2 separate regions of the Homo sapiens genome follow, and region 2 is linked to region 1. The links are contacts of gene promoters, found by promoter capture Hi-C in human tissues and cell types (Jung and others, 2019). All regions are on one chromosome and are shown on one strand. Each heading gives the region's core, a stretch centred on a gene start or on the middle of the fragment in contact. The rest is flanking DNA. Distances are from core to core; before and after follow the strand shown.

Region 1 (4,196 bases), core at 1,218-3,717:
GAGAGATCTTTAGGAAAGTCAAATAACTTCTCTAAGAATGGATAGATTCTAAACTCCTTAATTCATATGTTCTATTTGCCTTTGGTTTTTGACCAAACAAGTCACTAAAAAGAGCCTTTGCAAAAGATATCCTATGGGAAATGAAGTTAATAATACCATCTATTTCACTTCATAGTTTCTCACATTTACTGCCTTCTGCACATTTGCGTGACTAATTATCAATATCTGCTAAGTAAAAAGATACATGATGCCTGATACGGTCACCTGATGTCCACCCTCCCAGGAGACCAGCCAACCATCCAAAAGTTGAAACAAAGCCCTCATCCTGTTGCTATGGAATCATTACTGAGCTCCAAGACTAAGCTCTCCTTTCAGTGGGAGACCTTCTATATCTCAGAGCCAGAGAATGTTGCACCTAGCTGTGCTCAATTTCTTTTTGTAGAATAACCATGAAATCCATGCTATTGTCAGCCTAGAGGTTTTGACCTTTGGGCAAAATATTTTGTAGAGAAGGCTAAAGAAATGTGCAGAAAGTTTTCCTAGAAATTATTACAAAATTCCTATCATTATCAGGTTTATTTTTGGAAAAATGGCCTACTAATCCAATGCAGCAGAGAGAAAAATATCTTGAGTATCCCAGAAGTAATGAAAACATACTTAGTAAAATCTATTCCTTTTGCCAAGCCCATAACTCCTCTGATTAAACTGCTATCAAGATAGTGGGAAAGGAAGAAGCAATGAGAAAAAGTAAGAAATAATTTACTATCTCCTTTACCCTAGCAAGCAAAAGTTATTTAACTAAATGAACGACTCATCTATAAATAAAAAAGAGTACACTATTACTACTCTGCAAATCTTTAAAAGCAGATGTTTTCATCTAAGATGGTTGTAGAACAGCTTTACCTCAAGATACATGGATATCCCTCCTCTAAGGACCAAAAATTCTTTTTTAGTGGGATTTGCATGGTATATTTTCAAGAACCTCAGAGCACTGAAGACACTAATTTTTCTCCCCAAACCTCCTGAATGACAAGCATGATTATTAGTTCTATTTTCCAATGAAAAAAAAATCAAGCACTAATAAATTACAGAACAAGTTAACAGGTACCTTCTGACCTGATGCAACAGGAAGTACACAACATTGCCTATGTAGCTTTCTTGCCAAATATATTTATTCTGAATCTAAACATGAGGAAACAATTAGACAAATCTAGATTGCAAGACTTTCTAAAAGACATCTAACCTAGGCTTTGAAAAATGTCTCAAGAACAACAACAAAAAGGGTAGAGGGACATTTTTAGAGAGGCTAAAAAAAACTAAAGAGAATAAAGAGACATGACAACCAATTACAATACATGTTTTTCACTGGATCCTGTATTAGGGGAAAAGTCCACCATGAAGCACTTTTCTGGGGACAATCAGGGGAGATTTGAATATGGTCTCAATATTAGCTATTATATTTATGATAACTCTTGGGGACATGCTAGTGATACAGTGTTTATACAGGGAAATGCCCTTGTTTTTAGGAGATACATGCCTAAATACTTAAGGCAAAAGTATAATAAAATCTGCTACTAATTTTCAAATGGTTTAATAAAGAGAGATGGAAATAGGAGAGACCAAATATGGCAAAATGTCAACAACTGGAGAATATAAGTGAAAGATATACAAATATTCATTCAACATTTCTTTGCCATTCTTTGAGGATTCAATGGGTTTGAAAATTTTCAAATAGCTGGGGGTAAAAATCAGGCAGCAGTTTTGTCTCATCAGTGGAAGCGCAAAAAAGAAAATGAAAGCATATTCCCTCATTCCCAAAGCCCTACCTGAAAGAATAATTTCCAATCCAGTAATTGTGAGTTAAATATTTTAGAGGCAATTTTCTGACTGTAAGGGAGCACTTTATTTGAGGAACGAGTAAAAATAATTGCTTGAATGGAAGAGAGATGTAGGACTTTATTCACCTGATTGGCCCATCCACTTTGGCCTTTTAGAACACAAATGGTTGAGGCTAAATTTCAGAAAACAAAATTTTAATTGATTATTAAAAGTTTTCTGCTCAATATAATCCCCATTAGCATGCCTTATTCCTATGGAGAATATCAGTTGCATAGAATATTAGTTGCTAGAAGGCAGAAATAATAATGATATTTATAAATTACCTGTATAGTATTTAACATAGCACCATACATAAAGATAAACCCTTAATAAAGTGTTCGGTAATTCTGTTAAGGGTGGAAAATATAATAAGCATTTCTTAATCTTCTCTCTCAATCCCAGTTCTCTAACCACTATCATACTCACCTCTAGGCAAAGAAGCAAAAGCTTTTCTGTGTGTTGAATGCATCATTAGGTGAAAAGCGGGTAGGCTAAAAATCAATATGACTACTTACCTTGGTTCCAGTTTTAGACATTTTTGGTGCATAGACTGGTTTTCCCAGTGCTGAAAGAAATTCAGGAATGGCTACAGAGAGTTAGAGGCACAGTGACATTTATATGGGCTGGTTTCAGTCAAACATTTGCTTAGTCATGAGAATAGGATCCAAAAATTGAGTCAGTCATTTAGACGCTATTGATGGTTTCTAGAAAAAACAACTGGGATTATAAAATAAAGGAAAGCTTCAGTACCGCCTTTAATGCTTACCAAGCAGGGCTGCATTACAGACTTTGCTGAGTCAAGAAACCAAAACCCAGACAAAGTTGTAAAAATTAAGAACAAAAGAGTCTCTCTTTTTTTTTTTAAGCAGCCTCTTTGAAATTCCTAATGTCCTTTTTCTTCAACAAAGCTTGTGAGAGGTAAGAGTCAGAAGACTACCTCTATTTCTGGACAGAAGTGACATGTTCTAAACGCAACAAAACTTACATGACAACTAAATGCAATGCATGATCTTGTGTTTGGGGAAAAAAGTCACTATAAAGACACTGCTGGGACAATCAGAAAACATTTTAATATGGACTGTAAATTAGATAATACTATTGTACCAAAGTTTAACTTCTTGAATTTGATCATTGTACTATGACTAGGTAAGAGTATGTCTGTTTCCAGGACATGTATGCTACCATTTAGAAGAAAGGTTCAAGATGTCTGCAACCTATTCTCAAATTGTTGAGCAAAAATAAAACAATACTATCATGTTGAGTGGTAAAGAGAATGTAGCAAAATGTTAACAACTGGTGAATGGAATCTAGATAAAGGGTATGTTAAAGTTCACTGACTTATTCTTGCAACTATTATTTAATTTTTTTCAAAACACAATTTTTTTTAAAAAAAGAGCTCTAATCCATAAGAAGGGTGCCACCGTATGTAGAAAAGTGACTGTGGGACTCCTGAATTTGCCAAGGGTTAGCTAACTAAACACAACAAGCTACTGGCTAGGTGGTCTTCTTTGCCCACAATACAACATTGGAACATGATCGGAGAACATTTTTTGGCCCTAATACACCTCTGACTTTAGGAATGAGATTGCATCTTATGTAAATACAAAAAAACCCAATAAATTAACTTTTCTCCATTTTTAACTTTAACTGATCAAGTATATTCTCAAAATCAAGTATATTCTCAAAAGTCAAACTTCCTCATCTTTCTGTTAACAAAACTAACAAATATTTTAATAAATGGGATGTATTATGGTCAATTCAGAAAATGGCAAATGTGCCTTAATATAAAGATTATTGAGAAAATATTAAGCTATATGCTTGGTTTTCTGAATTTTATAAAATTTTATAAAACTTTAAAACTTTAAAAAAAGTATCTGAGTACCATTTATTTCATTAACAAATAGCAATATCTAAAATATATTTCTATTACTCCAGTGTTTATTTGGTAATGGTCTGCTCCTTGAATTTCATCTTAAAATAAAAACCATGTAAACTTCAATTAGAATTAAACATTCTGAGGGTTAATTTTTACTTTAGAAATACAAAAGAGTTTTTTGATAGAAATACTAATTAAATGGCCAGAGAGCATATGAACCAATGTTTATCAGCAATCTGATTCATTTCACTCATTTGGTAATTTGGTAATTTCACTCATTTATCTGAAAGAAGGTTTTCCCAAGTAAATGTAAACTTTACTAGTTATTTTGAGAAATGACACTGGAAACCTTTTCTAAAATTAAAACTAAAGATTTATCTTTTACAAAAAAAGGAAATTATTCTTTAGAGTTTGTTTATTGAAAATTTGAAGCAGGAAGTGA
Region 2 (4,196 bases), core at 1,193-3,692, 580 kb before region 1:
GACCTCTATATTTGAAATTGCAACTCTGCTTCCACCCTGCCCATGTCTGGCTCCCTTCCTTACTTCAATTCTTCTATTTCTGCCTGTCTTTCCACACTAGAATATAAGCTCTATGAGAACAGGAATTTGTCTGGAGGAAGTCAAGGGCTAAAGCAGGAAGCAGAGTGAAATAAATTCTCAAAAATCAACAGTCAAGTATGATATTAAAAGGAGAAGAAGAGGCAATGGAGCGGGGGATGACTCTATTAAGCGTTAGGGTGATGGTAAAGATGTTGGCTTTTCCTGAAAGAGAAAAGTGATCGAAGGGTTTGGTTTTTTCAGTGTGTTTGTGTTTAGCTACAGGGTCTCACTGTGTTGCCTGGGCTGGAGGGTAGTGACTCTCCATCCCAGGAGCCATCATAGTACACAGCCTCAAACTCCTGGGCTCAAGTGATCTTCCCACCTCAGCCTCCCAAGTAGCTGGGACTGCAGGATTGCAACAGCATACCAGACACTGAAGGATTTTGAGCAGAGGAATCACATGACTTTGGTGTTAAAAGGATCATTTTAGCTTATGCTTTGTGAAGGGACTATAGGGGATAAGGGCTGAAGCAGGAAGACCTGTTAGGAGGTGGTTGTCATAAAATAGGCGAGATGATAGTAGCTTAGACCAGGGTGGTAGCAATGAGATTGTGGAGAGTGGTCAGATTCTGTGGAGGTTTTAAAAGTTGTGTTGGCAGGATTTGTTGGTGGACCAGATATCAGGGGTAAGAAGGGAAGAGTTGAAAATGACTCTGAAGTTTTATGGCTTGAGTAACTGGAAGAATAAAGTTGAGATTCACTGAAATATGGGAGACAGTGGGGAGGAGGAGGTCAGGAACTCCTTAAACTTGAATTGGTCTCATTAAACTTGAGTTGCCAACTAGGCATCCAGAGACTGGGTAGGCAGTTGGATAAGATTTTTGGGAGTGGCCAGTCACTCTATTAATTCTGTCTTCTAAATCTCTCTGATTTTTTCCATTCTCCCTCTTAGAAGCTTTTTCCACACTCCATTTGCCTTCTCTCCATGTTCCACCTTTAAACAGAACCATCTTTCAAATCTGATTAATTTTTCAAACCTTGTAGACAGCTAATACCACCTTGTATCACATTCCCATTCTCCTTCATTACTGCTCAAGATGTAAGCCCCTCTGGTTATTAGTCTCAACCCTATATTTCGCCACGCATCCTTTCCTTGACCCCACATCTCAGACTCCCTTGCCTACAAAACCTTCTCACGGTACCCTTCTGTTCCAACATCAACATCTTGCTAAATGCCCCCTCAACCTCTTTGAATAAATGGTCACACTTGACTTTTCTCTCTCAATCCTCCCTGTTCATCATCACCACATCCAGTTAATCACCAAAATCCTGTTGATATCATCTTGTCAAGGAAAACTGTGAAGGCCCGGCGCAGTGGCTCACGCCTGTAATCCCAGCACTTTGGGAGGCCGAGGCCGGCGGATCATGAGGTCAGGAGATCGAGACCACCGTGAAACCCGGTCTCTACTAAAAATACAAAAAAAAAAAAAAAATTAGCCGGGCGTAGCGGCTGTCGCCTGTAGTGCCAGCTACTCGGGAGGCTGAGGCAGGAGAATGGCGTGAACCCGGGAGGTGGAGCTTGCAGTGAGCCGAGATCGCGCCACTGTACTCCAGCCTGGGTGACAGAGCGAGACTCCGTCTCAAAAAAAAAAAAAAAAAAAAGGAAAACTGTGAAAGACTTTGAAATGGGAAAAAAAGGTTGCTGGGTGTCCATGCCCAGGGCACCGTTCTCACTTTTGTGAGCCTTTCCTTGTTTTTAAGATATCTATAACTCTATAAGTTGTAGCAAATAGATAATAACGCAACCGATTCTTGTCCATAGAAATGCAAATGAAGGCCGGGTGTGGTGGCTCATGCCTGTAATCCCAGCACTTTGGGAGGCCGAGGTGGGCTGATCATGAGGTCAGGAGTTTGGGACCAGCCTGGCCAATATGGTAAAACCCCGTCTCTACTGAAAATACAAAAATTAGCCAGTCATGGTGGCAGGCACCTGTAGTCCCAGTTACTCAGGAGGCTGAGGCAGGAGAATCGCTTGAACCCAGGAGGCAGCAGTTGCAGTGAGCTGAGATCACGCCACTGCACTCCAGTCTGGGCAACAGAGCAAGACTCTGTCTCAAAAAAAAAAAAAAAAAAGAAATACAAATGAATTGTGTCTGGTGGACCACAATTGATTATTGCCTGGTGGATATTGACTGGTTTTGTCCCTAATTGTACATTCATTTTAGCATTTTGGCATTCTTGATTGCCTACATATATGTGTGTTCTTTGAATTTTTCTTATAACATTGTACTGGTTCCCTCATTAATTAATGAGTTAAATAAAATTTTGACACATTCATTTTATGTGTGTACAAATTATCATTTTACTCTTTAAAAATGTATCCTTTAATATTCTGAGTATCTCTTAAATTTGCATTATTCCCTCCACCTGAATAACCCCTTCTAGCACAGGTCATTATCAACCTTTACCTAGATTATTTTAAAGCCCACTAATTGTACCCTTGTCTGTGGTCTCTCTATCCTATTCCACACTCTCCATTAACCAGAGCACTTTCCCAGCATGTAAGTCTGAACATACTGCTCAATTTCATAAAATCTCCTGCTCCCAGAACAAAGTGCAGCCCTCTAGGCCTATTTTGCTTCTCCAGCCTCATGTGTGACATTGACCTGCAGTTCTCAGTCAGATTCATTTCAGTTCTCTGAATTCACTCCCTTCTCTGTCACCTCTAGAATAAAGCACTTGCAATTGCTTTGCATGCAACACACTCCACATGCCTCTCTTCTCCCAATTCTTGCCTGTTCTTTAGGGCTCATTTCTGTTACCACTTCCTTCAGGAAGCCTCTCTCTAGTCTGGGTTAGATGCTCCACTTATGTCCTCCTGTGTGCCCTCAGCCCTTTACCTCCTCCCCTAATAGCACATATCACGCTGTATTATAATTGCTCTTTAATGATCTCCTCTGCTAGTCTTTAAGCTCTGTGCTGGCAGGTGCCATGTTCAGGTTTGAATCCTGAAATCCTTACTTAAGCAGCTGTATAATCTGGGGTAAATCCTTGAACTCATTAGGCCATAATCCAATATATAATGTCTTTCATAAATTTTATCTTATATCCAACTTGTTCAAACCTGCTATTGTTTACCACTACATCCCCAGGGCATAGCACAGCATGTAAAAGTCATTCAAAAACATGGTCCCAGGACAATAACAGAAACCTCCCTATAAAAATCCTTTTCAAGGACCATGACCCACCCTACCTACTCCAGCACCCCCCAACCCCCTGCAAAAAGCACAAATTATACTCAAATAGAAAGTACTTCAGTTTGTTTAGATTTTTATTTTATAAAGTCAGAGTAAAATATTCAACCCACCTGCTTTTTAATTGTGAATGGTTCCATATAATGGCCATCCTAGGAGGGATGAAAAAGGGTTTTGTTTTACTTTCTCTAATTTATAAAGAAAAAAAGGTTTATTTGATTAATGATTCTCGTGGCTGGGAAGTTCAAGATTGTGCATCTGCATCTGATGAGGGCCTCAGGCTGCTTCCACTCACGGTGGAAGGTAAAGGGGAGCTGGCATGTGCAGAGATCACATGGAGAGAGAGGAAGCAAGAGGGAGGGTGGAGGTGCCAGGCTCATTTTAACAACCAGCTCTCACAGGAACTAATAGATGAGAACTCACCTCTGAGGGAGGGCATTAATCTATTCATGAGGGATCTGCTCCCATGACCCAAACACCTCCAATTAGGCTTCAATATTGGGAATCACATTTCAGCATGATGTTTGGAGGGGACAAATATCCACACCAGCAGTCAGTGTTCTGCAATTTCACAGTGATGCGCATAAAGTGGGAGTTCATTTATCATTGTATGGGGCACTCAGTGACCTCTCAATCTGGAAGCTCAGTTAATATCCTTGGACTCCAAGAAATTACTATTTTCTTAGATAATTTCAATACCTCCATCTATTTCTCATTCTATAATTCCCCTGGCTTGATCTTCTAATTATTTTTCTCTCTCTTATTTTACTTGCTTTATTTTTCCCCTTCTAATTCTGGGAGAGTTCTCCAACTTTTTCTACTGACATTTTATTTCTGCTATAATAAATTTTTGAGAGCAGCTGCTTATCTTTTGAATGCTTG

The links. The method cuts DNA at HindIII sites, captures the fragments that hold promoters and counts their contacts. A contact is called where the count stands out against the background at its distance.
Region 2: a fragment that was not itself captured here is called in contact with the fragment with the promoter of CRYGS in region 1 in 1 of the 25 tissues and cell types used here (aorta).

Annotation. Positions count from the first base shown.
Region 1 is chr3:186,541,913-186,546,108 of GRCh38, forward strand. It overlaps CRYGS (crystallin gamma S), which reads right to left and starts at 2,468. Exons shown (of 3, transcript NM_017541.4): 1 at 2,394-2,468. The coding sequence starts at 2,414. TBCCD1 (TBCC domain containing 1) reads right to left here. Exons shown (of 8, transcript NM_018138.5): 8 at 4,155-4,196. The HindIII fragment of the contact is 9,271 bases long and covers 1,037-4,196 here.
Region 2 is chr3:185,962,105-185,966,300 of GRCh38, forward strand. It overlaps the pseudogene NMRAL2P. Among named protein-coding and RNA genes, the nearest start is that of TRA2B, 26 kb to the left of the region's middle. The HindIII fragment of the contact is 7,383 bases long and covers 1-4,196 here.